Regions from separate parts of the Homo sapiens genome. Here regions 2, 3, 4 and 5 are each linked to region 1. Evidence: promoter capture Hi-C in 16 types of primary human blood cells and fetal thymus (Javierre and others, 2016). All regions are on one chromosome and are shown on one strand. Each heading gives the region's core, a stretch centred on a gene start or on the middle of the fragment in contact. The rest is flanking DNA. Distances are from core to core; before and after follow the strand shown. Region 1 holds the start of INO80D (INO80 complex subunit D). Region 2 holds the start of NOP58 (NOP58 ribonucleoprotein). Region 3 holds the start of FAM117B (family with sequence similarity 117 member B). Region 4 holds the start of WDR12 (WD repeat domain 12). Region 5 has its middle 5.1 kb from the start of NBEAL1.

Region 1 (2,641 bases), core at 105-2,604:
CATTCCTGCCAGGTTAGTCAACATGTGTTAGAAAAATAACTTTTAATACAAGATTTAAATCATCATCCCCAGTAGAACATACAAAGATAGTCGGTTCTTTTTCTATTATTTTTCTCTTTCTTCACAAAAATAGAAAAATGTCTCTGCAATTTATCCTCCAATAAGCGTTCTATTGGAATCGATGTAAATGGGTACCCTTTGTCCCTCTCACCTCTGTGCTAACAGCATTGTTTAACTCTGATCCCATTTATCTAGTAAGCTTTGCTCATTTAAAAAAGTAAATTCATGACATCCACTGCAATATACAAAAAGTCTATCATACAGGCTGGCAGCACATTGGAAGTTCTGAACTAACATAACTAACAAAAATAGCCACATTTCTCAATTCTGTGACACAAAAAGCAGATAGCAACATGTGTAATGCACCAAAGATCTAGCTAGAGTTTAAAGAATCTAAATAAATAAAAAAATTAAATGCCCGGATATAATTCTTAATAAGCTATTTTACCTCAAGAAAAATCTAAGGCTGTCTTTAAAATCTCTTTCCAGTTTTACTGTATCCTTTCTGTATGGGCAGCATAACAGAATTTCCAGAAACAGGGGCCGTTTTTAAATCCCCAGTGATAGCTGCCTTTATCTGCACTGTGGAAAATGACACACTGTATCATGCCTTTCTGGACAGTCCATAGGTTTTATTTACATTGCTTTGAGAAACAGACGAAAGACATGTTTTTTTACAATTGTCTTACAGCAATCTGTTCTGAGAGTAACATGTAACACAAATTTTTATATGCAATATATGAAAACATAAATATTTATATATACAATAACATAACCAGACAAATAAATGAAGTTACTATTAAGTCTCTTTAAGTATAAATTTACAAACTGACCACCAGCCACAGAACTTAGCCCTGTAATGGAGAAAAATTATTACTGGCTTAAAAAAATATTAAAATATCACTGTCACTAACATGAAAAAAATTAAAAACAGAAAATAAAAAACAATAACCACCGGAAAACCTGTGTCTTGTAAAGATTTCTTTCCATCAGAAGATGCAGAAACATTTTTCCCCCTGGAGCAAATGAAAACGTTTCTCATGCACCCCCCGTTTCTTCCCTGCTTTCTCCCCCAGGCGCGGGTGTAGACGGCCGGTGTGGACTTTTTTCCAGAGATGAGAAGTAAAAATTTGTACTTTATCGGGAGCGGGTGCACTTTTCCCCCTGGCCCCCCTTTGCTCTGCCTCCAAGATGGTAGGAAAGTTGTCGTTTCGGAGGGCAGAGGAGCAGCTCTCTGGTGTTATGTCCTCGCAGTGCCTGTAGTGGTGCTGTAGGAGGCTGCTGCCTCTTCTTGTACAGCCCCGGCAGCCCTGCCTTCTTGGCTGGAGAGTATATTCAGGGATTTCCCCTTAATAATCACCGACCCTGGGAGCACTTTTTAGTTTCCAAAATAAAAATATGATCCTCACCCCTCTTGCTTGACAGGGAAAGGCTCTCGCCGGAGCCCAGGGGGGAGCAGTAGCAGCGGCAGCCGAGCTTCCTAGTCCATTGCCAGCGCCTCTCACTCTGATCTGTCAGCCCAGCCGAGGGAACAGGGGGGAAGGAGAAAAAAAAAAGCAGCTGAAAGGTAAGCAGAGGCGGCCCCAGGCCCGGCCCACATCCCCGGGCTCCCGTAGGGCGGCGGGCTGGGCCGCGCAGGCTGGGCGGGCGGCGAGCGCGCTTACGTGAGGCCGGGGATTCGCCGGCCCACGCCAGGCCCCGGGCGGAGAATGAAAGGGTGAGTGGGGCCGGCGCCCGGGTGGTGGAGGCCGGGGGCCTGAGGGCCTCCGGGGCGCCCGCGGGCGGCGACGGCGGGCGGGCAGGGGTCCAGCCGGAGCCGGAGTGGGGCGAGCGGAGCGGCCTGCGCGGGCCAGGTGGGGGTGTGCGGCGGGAGGGGGGGGCGCCGGTAGGCCTCGGGCCGGTAGGCCCCACGGCAGCCGCGCCCTGCCCCCGCACCCCGGGCCTCCGCGCGCCCCCTCGAGTCCCCCGGGGTCTCCGGGTGGGACGGCGGCGCTGCTGGGCCGAATCCCGCGCCGGCCCGGAGGCTTTCCCGCGGGGCGGCAGGCCCGGGCTGCCGGGACAGGGGCGTCAGGGCCTAGGAGTGGGGAGTGGGGAATGGGCGCCCGGCTCCCCTTCCCCCGGGTCTCTCGCAGACGGCCCCCAGATTCCGGTAAGAGTTGAATTTATTTATCCCCCTCCTCCGCGCTCCGGACGGCCAGGCCGGGGCGGGGCGGGGCGGGCGGCCTGGCGGGCGTGGGGTCGGGTGGAGGGGCGGTGAGGAGTCAGGTGCAGCCGCGGCCCAGAAAGTTTCCTTTTAGGCCCGAACTGGGGGCCGCTGTCTCTCCGGGGAGCCCTGGTCCTAGCGCCCGGGACCCCCCAGGGCGTGGGGGAGCGCACTCGGCTATTTTGAAACTCTTTGCCAGTTCCTGTCCATTGAAGAAGGTACTCCGCCCCTGCACCCCTCGCCCGCGCCCCACCCAACTCCCCGCGAGCCCATTCGGGGCTGCTAACTCCAGCCCCTTCCCCCTAGAGCCCCCCAGGTTGGGGAGAGGGCCTTCTCTTCCGGTTTGGAAAAGTTTGCAAGGGGCTTTTCTTAGCTTTA
Region 2 (2,641 bases), core at 92-2,591, 3.8 Mb after region 1:
CTCAACAGCATCTTGCGATACGAATGTCTTACCATTCAACCATTTCAGTGCTGACGAACTTGTCAAACTTTCCCCACGAAAACAACCAAACCTCAAACTGACATCACCAGCCCAGATGTTTTCCCCTAAGCTTCAAATCTGAAATACTGAACTGCCCGATCTACACAACTGCATTATCAGGTCTAATAGACAACGCAAGCTTCGCACAGCCCAAACCGGAAATCTTTAGTCCTTCCCCAAGAAACTTTCTTAACATCTTATTTAAACCAAAACCCCACATTCAATCTATTAGCCAGTCCTTCCTGTTCTACCTTCACAATTTCTATCGATATTTGTTTCTCTCCATACCAGGCAATTTCATCTTGTCCAAATGAATGCAAAAGTATTCTTGCTGCCGTTCTTATCTCCTCGAGTCTAATCTCCACACAGCAGAGTAACCGTATTAAGACAAATTAGCAGGTCATTCCTCTGCTTAAATCCTTTCGATTGGCCGAGCACGGTGGCTCACGCCTGTAATCCCAGCACTTTGGGAGGCCGAGGCAGGTGGATCGCTTGAGGTCAGGAGTTCAAGACCAGCCTGGCCAACATGGTGAAACCCCGTCTCTACTAAAAGCAAACAAACAAACAAAAACAACTAGCCAGGCGTGGTGGTGGATGGAGGCCTGTAATCCCAGCTACTCGGGAGGCCAAGGCAGGAGAATCGCTTGAACCCGGGAGACGGAGGTTGCAGTGAGCCAAGATTGCGCCACTGCACTCCAGCATGGGCAACAAGAGCGAAACTCCATCTCAAAAAAAAAAAAAATCTTTCGATCATTCCTCAAAACATCTAGAATAAAGTCCGAATTCCCTATAATCTGTTAAATTCTAACACGCCTCCTGCCCACCCCTTCAACGGGAGGAAATAAAATCCTCTAATGCAGAACGGGTCTCCCCAAACGGCGGGGCCACGTGTTACACGTAACATGGCTCTCAGGTGTAAAGGCCTTCTCCCTCCTCCCAGAGCCCGGGCTATAACAGGCACCCACGCTACTCTGAGTAGTTCCGTGCTTAAGTCTTTCCCTCTCCTCGTCTGTCCAGCATCCGCCTTCCCCCTTTAACGGCTCGCTCTCCCACCTACCTTAAAGATGGCGTAACCCACAGACGTTTCAAACAGCACCAACATGGTGAGGCCGGGTCAGGGCGCCGCACGGCCTGCCAGAAGCTGTAGAGTCAGTTCAAAAACACCGACTACGCGGCCTCAAAAGGCCTCCTAGGCCGCGGCGGGCAAAGCACAAATGCGCTCGCCGTCCCGCAAAGAATCAGAACACGCTGCCTAAACCCTCCACGCTGTACTGGAACTAGGACGCACGAACGCGCTACTCCTTCTCTGAGGATTCTGGGATAGCAACGTCACTTCCGACAGAAGACTGCCGCAGAGATTGCCGTCACTTCCAGAATGTTCCCGCCACAGCGGGCTGGGGCGGGCCGAGAAAGTTTGTATCGCGGGATCTAGGGCCTGAACGGAGCCTTTGCGCCTTTTTTTCTTTTTTCTTTTTTTCTTTTTTGGAGACGGAGTCTCGCTCTGTAACCCAGGCTGGAGTGCAGTGGTGTGATCTCGGCTTACTGCAACCTCCGCCTCCCGGGTTCAAGAAATTCTCCTAGCCGGGCGCAGTGGCTCACGCCTGTAATCCCAGCACTTTGGGAGGCCGAGGCGGGCGGATCACAAGGTCAGGAGATCGATCGAGACCATCCTGGCTAACACGGTGAAACTCCGTCTCTACTAAAAATACAAAAAATTAGCCGGGTGTGGTTGCAGGCGCCTGTAGTCCCAGCTACTCGGGAGGCTGAGGCAGGAGAATGGCCTGAACCCAGGGGGCGGAGCTTGCAGTGAACCAAGATCCTGCCACTGCACTCCAGCCTGGGCGACAGAGCGAGACTCCGTCTCAAAAAAAAAAAAAAAAAAAGAAATTCTCCTGCCTCAGCCTCCCCAGTAGCTGGGACTAGAGGCACACACCACCACGCCCAGCTAATTTTTGTATTTTTAGTAGAGATGGGGTTTCAGCATGTTGGCCAGGATAGTCTCGATCTCTTGACCTCGTGATACGCCCGCCTCGGCCTCCCAAAGTGCTGGGATTACAGGCGTGACCCACTAGGCCCGGCCTTTTTTTTTTTTTTTTTTTTTTTTTTTTTTTTTTTTGAGACAGTCTGGCTGTTGCCCAAGCTGGAGTGCAGTGGCACTATCACGGCTCACTGCAACCTCCAACTCCCAGGCTCAAGCGATCCTCCCACTTCACCCTCCGGAGCAGCTGGGACTACAGGCCTGTGCCACCACACCCAGCTAATTTTTTGTAGAGACAGGGTTTCACGATGTTGCCCAGGCTGGTCTCGGACTCTTGACCTCAAGGGATCCTCCCACCTCGGCCTCCCAAAGTGCTGGGATTACAGGCGTGAGCCACCGCGCCCCGCCACCGCTAGAGATTTAAAGGGGAAAAACTTCACGATATTATTTTGTTAACCCTCTATGAATTATATGTTCACTTTGAGAGAAACGAGGAGCTGTTTCGGTGCCAGTCTGCCTCAGGCATCTAGAATTTGAAATGCCAGCTAGTGCCATTAGACTTTATCCCCTTTCAAGCCCTGCCTTGAGGCGAAGGCCTCAGAA
Region 3 (2,641 bases), core at 50-2,549, 3.5 Mb after region 1:
AATGCATTCAGTACCCCAGATCTGAAACTGTTTTGTGAACAGAAATACTTAGCAGCAGCAGATATGGGCTATGCCAACATTAACCTTGTCCCTAAAACAAAGTGACAAACCACTCCTAGCCTCACCCTCAAGGGAGGGTAAGCAGTAACGACTCCTCCAGGAGTAAGGCCAGGAAGCCAGGTTTATCATTAACACTCATCAGCTCAAGCCCAAGGTTTAGCCGCTGCACCTCCACCACCAGGGAGCCGTGCGGGGCGGGCAGAGGGGTGAATGAGGCGGGCGGGCGGGCGGGGCGTAGGGTAGGCCCGGGAAAGGCGGGGCCGCACTGCCGGGTCCCCCACCGCCCGGCACCGCCCCCAGCCCCGCCCCCAGCCACCCGGGCTCCGCGGCAGCTCTGCAGTCCCCGCGCGATTGCAGCGCGCGCCCGGGACCCCTTCCCGCAGCCGCCTCCCCCTTGCTGCGCGACCCCCAGCACTTACCTGCTTTGCAAACCGGGGCGCTGGGGCTCCTCTTCTCCGGCGAGCTTCGGCTCTGCTCCGGAGACCTCCTCCGATGCCGGACGCGGGCTGGGGGTGGGGCCGCGCTCACCTCGCCGGTCCACAGGTGGGTGGGCGACGAGCTGGGCGACGACACGGTGCCCAGCAGCGGCGGCGGCGGCGGCGGCCGTGGGGGGCTCCCGCGAGCTCCAGGCGCGGCGCTGCGCGTGGGGCTGGTGCCTCGCGTGGACGTCGCGGACGCGCCCGTCTGCGTGGCCACCGTGGGGCTGGTGCGCGCGGCCGCGTTCCCGCCGCCGCGCGTGGGGCTGGTGCTGCGCGAGGCGGTGCGCGGGCCACCGCCGCCGCCGCCGCCTGCGGGGCCTGAGGCGCCACCACAGCAGCCACCGTTGTTGTTGCCGCCGCCGCCGCCGCCGCTCCGCGTGGGGCTGCCATGTTGCTGCTGCTGCTGCTGCTTCAGCTGGAACGGAACCGTCGCCCTCATGGGCTGCAAGCGGCTCCCGGGTCCCCCGGCCGTGGCCACCGCACCACCCCCAAGGGAGCCGGCCGGCGTGGGGGACCCATTGCGCCTCACCCGCTGGGACATGGTCCCCCCCCTCCCCGGTGACTGGGCGAGACGGGGGGTTTTGTTGTTGTTGGGCTGCAGGGGGAGGATTCTCGAGGCCGGAGGGCAGGCCCCCCAAGACGGGGTGACGAAGCCGGACTCCGGGGTGCAGGGGGAGACCGGGCCGGGGCAGGCAGCAACGAGGTGGTGCAGCCGCCGCCGCCGCCGCCGCCGCTCCTCATCAACAATAGTGTCTCCTCTGCTGCCCCCGCCCCCCACGATCGCCCATTGGTGCAGCGTCAGCCGCGCTCGAGCCGCTCCACTGCTCCCATTGGCTACGAGCAGCTCGGGTCCCGGGCCCCCGAGGCCTTGAGAGCCTGGGTGTGCGCGGAGACCGTCTGCTCTTTAAAGAGAAAGAGACCCGCCCCCCGCGGGGAGGGAGCGGAGGAAATGGGCCCTGTGTGTATGTGTAGTGTGCGCGCGTGTGTGTGTACACGTGAGTGCCCGTGTACGCGCGCGCCTAGCCACGCGCGCCTTTCCTTTCCCGCCGGGGGGAGCCCTGGGGACTCAGACTCTGGAAGGTTGCCAAAGGAAATGTCCAGACCCGGAGCAGTTCCCAGGGATGGTCTGAAGCCTTTTCCGCATAACTCATTTCCTTACCCCAGTGTTCACTTGTGTTCACCTGTACGCGCATCTCGTTCGGGCTTTTATTCTTAATGTTTTTGTTCTGCCCTAATTCCATCTACCTATGGGCAGGGCTCAAAAGGAGAAGAAATTTAACTAATCTTACTGGCATTTTACGCCCCTCTCCTTTTATTTTTTAGAGCTCTACAAAGAGGCAAATCTCAGAAAGATTAAACTTGCCTGTTAGAATGCGATTTTAGATAGTATCTATAGAGTTCAGTTACCACATGTTATTCCTACCCTCCTGTATCTCAAGTAATCAAGACTATTTTAATCAGCTGCTTCGCTGTTCCCTGATACCTTGGAAGGATGGCTGCTACCTTACCAGTTTGTAAAGTGCTATAGTTTACAGAGGGCCTTATTTGATTCTACACGATCATTGTTTGAGACAGAACTGGGACAGCCATCCATATTTTTGTCTAGCGGAGGAAACAAGTCTTTGGTGTGGCAAAGACTCGGGAAGGCAGGCAGTGACACTATTTCTAAAATGACCTAAAGGGCTCCTCATCAAGAAAATAAAAAATGGTGGAGCCAAAACCTACACTCCCACCTGTCTGGCTATAAATTGCCTATCCATGACCTCTTTTCCCTCTACTATTTTTATTAGTTGTACATGCTAGACAGATTTCGTCGTGTAAAAATGTGGGAGTGGAGGGCATAGTATGATTCACTCTGGACCTGAAATCCTACTGGGTCCCTTTGCGCGGTGGTGGAAGGCCTTTTTTTTTTTTTTTTGAGAAGAAGTCTCTCTCTGTCACCTAGGCTGGAGTGCAGTGGCGGAGTGCACTGGCTCGAATCTCGGCTCAGTGCAACCTCCGCCTCCCGCGTTCAAGCAATTCTCCTGCCTCCGCCTCCCAAGTAGCTGGGATTACAGGCGCGTGCCGCCACGCCCCGTAATTTTTCTGTTTTTAGTAAAGAG
Region 4 (2,641 bases), core at 68-2,567, 3.2 Mb after region 1:
CTCCCTCAGAAAAACAACTATATTAGAGTAATTCTTGGGACCATTGAGAACAATACACAGGCCTTTGGGTAACTTCAAGACAAAAAAGGCAAAAAGTCGGGGAGAAGGTGTGGGAGGATGATTTTCCCCTTCTAAACGTAAGGTATAAAAGGGCTCAGAAAGCGGAAAAAGAACCCTAAAAAGCAAGGTGCGGGACGGCGTGAGGGACCACACATTGGGCGCTCCGCCCAAGGGGTCCGGCTCCTTCTCCGCGGCGATGGCGCGTCCTTGGGCTCAGCAACCCTCCTGAAGACACCTAACCTCCTCCTTCTCCAGCCTGCCCCTCTGGGGCCTGCGAGCCCCGTCCCGGGCCGGGGGTCGGAAGCCGTGCCATGTGGGACCCCGAAAAGGCCCCCAAGCTTGGCGCGGAAGGCGCCGCCAGTGACCGGCTGCGGCTGGGGGCGGAGGCCGGCAGTTGCTCGGAGCTCCGGCGGGTCAGGAGGTGACGGGAGGAGGAGGAGGCAGGAGGAAGACGGGGGGTTGGGAGGTAGCGTCCGGTAGGTCTGCGCAGACAGCGCTGCCAGACCTCTGACTCCCCCAGTCCTGCCGCCGCCGATAGCCCCACAAGGCGACATGGGAAGTCCGCCGGAGCAGAGGGGAGAAAATTCAAAACGAGTCTACTCAACCTCGTCTTGGCTCCGAGGCCCCGCCATGGAGACCAGCATAATGCGCAGGCGCGCCCCACCGGGAGCGCGCAGAGCAGTCCCACGACAGTAGGACCACTATCGGCCACCGTCGACCGTTTCCTCTCTCATCCGTTCTTTTCTTTGTATTTCCGCCTCTCGCCTCTCTCTAAAAGCCGCAGTTAGAGGCGAGATTTAGGAAAAACCTCTGCCGAGTGAGCCTCTGGTTGGGAATATGTATGAGAAAAAAAAACTGGCAAGGCGTTAGTCAAGCAAAGCTGAAGGCAGAGGAAATTTGATATCTGGCTGGAGTCTAGAGGATTTAATGCAAATAAGATACTCTGAGGGCAGCGTGGCAAAAAAAGACTACAATTCCCGGTGGTCACAGCGTTTGAGAAGCGATGCTTTCTGAGACTTGTAGTAACTAGGAGCTGTGTTTGAACTATCCAGGCTCAGGACAGCCTCTTGAAAAAAAATTTTTTATTAATAAAGCGGATTTGAGTGGGATCTTTTTCCTAATCGATTACGGGCCCACACGTATGGGAAGAATTCTAACAATGATTAAAGGGACATGCTACCTTTACGACTATCCTTTTCTAATCGATGACTCCTAAATCTAGGAGTAGGTAGTCGATGTTTGTGGTCTGGGCGTCTGTAGAAGGGCAACCTCGTGCTTTCTGCAGAGGAGACCGGAGGGCAGAAGGCAGAGTCCAGGCTTAGACTGCAGTTCCTCGCTTACCTGTGCAGTCTAATTTTGAGCTGCCTCTTTGTAGTCTTAAAAGGCAGGAGCTTCGTGTTGTGGGTCTGCTAACCCGTACGTTTCCGTGGGCAAGTCGTGTGTACTCCTCGCCATGGCTCAGCTCCAAACACGCTTCTACACTGATAACAAGAAGTAAGTAAGCGTTCCAGCCTTCTCTCCCTTCCCCAGGTTCCTTTCCGACCACCCCTTTGGTATGACCTTGTGGATCCCTGGTTGTTTCTGCTGTCACCCCCACCCTTTTTTCTGAGATTACCTGCTTTCTAACCAGCTTCGTAGGTTCTATATAATTTGAATTGTGAGTGTGGAGGAGGCTGAAGGGCTTCAGGTTTGCTTTCTGAATGAAACATTTTATATGTGTAATTTAAAAATGAACAGTGGGCCTTGTTATAGGGTGTCTGCTAGTGGTGGTTCACAGTTTTTGAAAACGGAAAAAAAGTTTTTGAAAATGAAAAAACATATTTACCATTTATGTATATCTATATAGATATATAAACATTTTAACCAGTGGTCTCAAGGTCTGTTAGCACTCATTCGAAAACTAATTATATGCTGCCTTGTGGTATATATTGCATTGTTAGCTTTCTTTGTGTTTGCCTGGTCTCTTCCAACTATATTGGAAGTCTCTTGAGGGCAGGGACTATATATTAATTAAGCTTCTTGGATTGGCTGAGTCAACAAAAAATGTCAAATTTTTCAGTGAAAATGATAATATTTGTCGTGTTAATAAGCTAAAGTTAGCCATAAACTAGGAAACTCCCACCTGAGTTACATCTGTGGTTTTGTTTGTAGCTTTATGAGGAGAGCTAGTAAATCATCTTCTCTCCCCTTGTGTTGTTGCTGAAAGTATACATAAATCGTATTATCAATGCACCTGAGTATATGTACTTACTTACATACATTGCCTTAATACTTCTCTAGGAATGTGGTGATGCATTAACATAACCACTGTGTTTTTTAATTGAAAGTAGGTTTTTTTGTTTTTCTTAAAATAAAATTTTTTGAAATATGTGGGGCTTTTTTTTGTTTGTTTGGTTTGGTTTTTTTGGAGACAGAGTCTCACTCTGTTGCCCAGGCTGGACTGCAGTGGTGGGATCTTGGCTCACTGTAACCTCTGTCTCCCGGGTTCAAACAATCTTCCCGCCTCAGCCTCCAGAGTAGCTGGAATTACAGGCATGTGCCACCAAGCCTGGCTAATTTTTGTATTTTTAGTAGAGACAGG
Region 5 (2,641 bases), core at 56-2,555, 3.1 Mb after region 1:
CTTTGCCAGCAAATAGGAAGATTCCAGAGGACTGACCCTTAATAAACACACAAAGAACTAAAACATGTAACCTGTGTGTCCCTTCTTTCTGTCTCCTAGGAGATCTCAAGCTATGCATTGACAAGGAGAAACTCAGAAAACTTACCCGTATTGTCTCTAGGAGTCTACTAGTTGATTCTCTTTTCCGTATGATAATTCAACTAAGGCTGGTGCCCATCAAACTTCTGTGAACCAGGATTACCCCAGTTTAATATCTTCTTTCCCTTTTCCCTTAGACAAAATACCCAATGGATATTAGTAGAGAATTAAGTAGTTATTTTTCTGAAGGGTGCAAATGTTCCCTAAAGCTACAGAGAGTAAGGGGAGATGAGGAGTTATGCCTTTGTTTAGATAATTCTTTCCTTTGTACCACATACAAGGCAATAATTACAACACCACACTGCATGGGTTTAATAAGATGTCCCTCCTGGATAATCCCTAGTTTCTTGGTTCTCAGTTCGCCTGTGTCTCTTCCCCATAGTCCTGTCTTTAAACCATTCCCCTCTATAATGTCCGCATTATACTCACAGAATAAGAAAGGGTGGATCCCAGCCCCTTCTTAAGCCTGGCAAATTCTGCCGCATTTAGGTAACATCTAGGTGTCAGCTAGATGCCAACATTATTCCTCTGTTGAGGCTTCTGATGGCTCCCAGGAGTGGGGATAAGCTTTGGTTTCATGAGTGAGCCCCTCAACAACATTGAGATGTTTCTCTACCAATGAAACTACAGCTACTTTTTCTCCCAGTGTACCTTAAGATAAACACATTTACCGCCTTCAGAACATTTTCTTTCATAAGACTATATGACCCAGCAGCTTCTAAAATAGCCTGTCCTTTTATGTTAAAAGTATATATGTGGCCTGATTTTCATGAAAAAGGCCTCCACATTAATTTAAATGGTCTTGCACTCAGCGTCTCAGTTTATGTCAGAGCTATGAGTTTCAGTTCATCTCACCAGATATAACCTTAGAATGCCACTAAATTTATTAACAATGAAAAAATATACCTGCCAGCCGGGCATGGTGGCTTATGCCTGTAATCCCAGTACTTTGGGAGGCCGAGGCAGGTGGATCACTTGAGGACAGGGGTTCAAGACCAGCCTGGTCAACACGGTGAAACTCCATCTCTACTAAAAATACAAAAATTAGCCAGGCATGGTGGTGCACGCCTGTAAAATCCAGCTACTTGGGAGGCTGAAGCACGAGAATCTCTTGAACCCAGGAGGCAGAGGTTGCAGTGAGCCAAGAACTTGCCGCTACACTCCAGCCTGGTGACAGAGCAAGACTCTGTCTAAAAAAAAAAAAAAACAAAAAAAACAAAAAACCCTGGCAAGGCAATTGGACTATTCATATCTCTTGGTCAGGGCATTATCTCCCCATAGAAAAAAATGTATAGGGAAGTAAATTATATTCTCAGGGTTGCTTTTTCATCATGAGTCATAACAAGTACAACTAATTGGATTAATGTGATGGTAGTATCATCTTTTATAATAGCTTTCATGCAGCCATTTCCACTATGTGCAACCTGCCAATCGGAGCAGATACTTGGTTCTGCTAGATAGAGCAGTTTCCCTTGGGCAGATCTGGAGACATATGGTCAAGTTTTTGTTCTTTGACATTCCTTTCCTAAATCCCATCGAAGCTCTTTCTCTTCTATCCACACTTTCACACTTTTTTAGCTAGCCTGTCTATATGCATTCAGATTTTCTGATCTTTTCTAAAAAACACCTTTGGTTTTGCTGATTACCTTTATTAATTTCTTTTTTCAATTTCATTTATTTCTGCTCTAATTTTTGTTATTTCTTTTCTTCTGCTTACTTTGGATTTAATTTGCTCTTCTTTTTCTAGTTTCCTACAGTAGAAGCTTACTGACTTTAGATCTTTTTTTTTCTAATATTCAATGCTACAAAATTCCCTCTTGTTTTGGCTACATTCCTCAAATTTTCATCAGTTGTATTTTCATTTTCATTTATTTTAAAATATATTAAAATATCTCTTGAGTATCGGGGAACCTGCCCCCAATAGTCACATAGGTTCTTTTCTGTTTTCCCTAAGCGTCGGCCAGGTTGAGAAATAAAGGGACAGAGTACAAAAGAGGGAAATTTTAAAGCCGGGCATCCGGGGGAGACATCACATGTCGGTAGGTTCTGTGATGCCCCTGAGCCGTAAAACCAGCAAGTTTTTATTAGGGATTTTCAAAAGGGGAGGGAGTGTACGAATAGGGTGTGGGTCACAGAGATCACATACTTCACAAGGTAATAGAGTATCACAAGGCAAATGGAGGCAGGGCGAGATCACAGGACCATAGGACTGGGGCGAAATTAAAATTGCTAATGAAGTTTCGGGCACCATTGTCATTGATAACATCTTATCAGGAGACAGGGTTTGAGAGCAACCGGTCTGACCAAAATTTATTAGGCGGGAATTTCCTCGTCCTAATAAGCCTGGGAGCACTATGGGAGACTGGGGCTTATTTCATCCCTACAGTCTTGAACATAGAAAACGGCCACACCGAAGGGGGCCATTTTAGAGGCCCACCCTCAGGGGCGCATTCTCCTTCTCAGGGATGTTCCTTGCTGAGAAAAAGAATTCAGTGATATTTCT

Evidence for each region. Contacts are between HindIII fragments. The CHiCAGO score rates a contact against its expected background, and 5 or more counts as called.
Region 2: the fragment with the promoter of NOP58 here is called in contact with the fragment with the promoter of INO80D in region 1 in 2 of 17 cell types (fetal thymus and non-activated CD4 T cells); the score reaches 8.9 in fetal thymus.
Region 3: the fragment with the promoter of FAM117B here is called in contact with the fragment with the promoter of INO80D in region 1 in 2 of 17 cell types (fetal thymus and total CD4 T cells); the score reaches 10.0 in fetal thymus.
Region 4: the fragment with the promoter of WDR12 here is called in contact with the fragment with the promoter of INO80D in region 1 in 2 of 17 cell types (total CD4 T cells and non-activated CD4 T cells); the score reaches 9.8 in total CD4 T cells.
Region 5: a fragment that was not itself captured here is called in contact with the fragment with the promoter of INO80D in region 1 in 2 of 17 cell types (fetal thymus and activated CD4 T cells); the score reaches 5.9 in fetal thymus.

Annotation. Positions count from the first base shown.
Region 1 is chr2:206,084,887-206,087,527 of GRCh38, reverse strand. INO80D (INO80 complex subunit D) reads left to right here and starts at 1,354. Exons shown (of 11, transcript NM_017759.5): 1 at 1,354-1,627. INO80D-AS1 (INO80D antisense RNA 1) reads right to left here. Exons shown (of 2, transcript NR_186084.1): 2 at 24-1,571. RefSeq lists enhancers at 1,098-1,207, 1,218-1,267, 772-1,591, 1,318-1,607 and silencers at 1,658-1,867, 1,948-2,117, 2,138-2,337, 2,378-2,427, 2,329-2,623. The HindIII fragment of the contact is 4,007 bases long and covers 262-2,641 here.
Region 2 is chr2:202,264,463-202,267,103 of GRCh38, reverse strand. NOP58 (NOP58 ribonucleoprotein) reads right to left here and starts at 1,341. Exons shown (of 15, transcript NM_015934.5): 1 at 1,118-1,341. The coding sequence starts at 1,162. The HindIII fragment of the contact is 14,423 bases long and covers 202-2,641 here.
Region 3 is chr2:202,633,627-202,636,267 of GRCh38, reverse strand. It overlaps FAM117B (family with sequence similarity 117 member B), which reads right to left and starts at 1,299. Exons shown (of 8, transcript NM_173511.4): 1 at 480-1,299. The coding sequence starts at 1,080. RefSeq lists silencers at 252-691, 792-841, 1,032-1,261. The HindIII fragment of the contact is 4,588 bases long and covers 1-2,641 here.
Region 4 is chr2:202,910,349-202,912,989 of GRCh38, reverse strand. It overlaps WDR12 (WD repeat domain 12), which reads left to right and starts at 1,317. Exons shown (of 13, transcript NM_018256.4): 1 at 1,317-1,554. The coding sequence starts at 1,514. It overlaps CARF (calcium responsive transcription factor), which reads right to left and starts at 715. Exons shown (of 17, transcript NM_024744.17): 1 at 1-715. RefSeq lists enhancers at 435-484, 585-784, 825-974, 985-1,134. The HindIII fragment of the contact is 1,677 bases long and covers 401-2,077 here.
Region 5 is chr2:203,008,475-203,011,115 of GRCh38, reverse strand. No RefSeq gene overlaps it. Among named protein-coding and RNA genes, the nearest start is that of NBEAL1, 5.1 kb to the left of the region's middle. The HindIII fragment of the contact is 1,196 bases long and covers 708-1,903 here.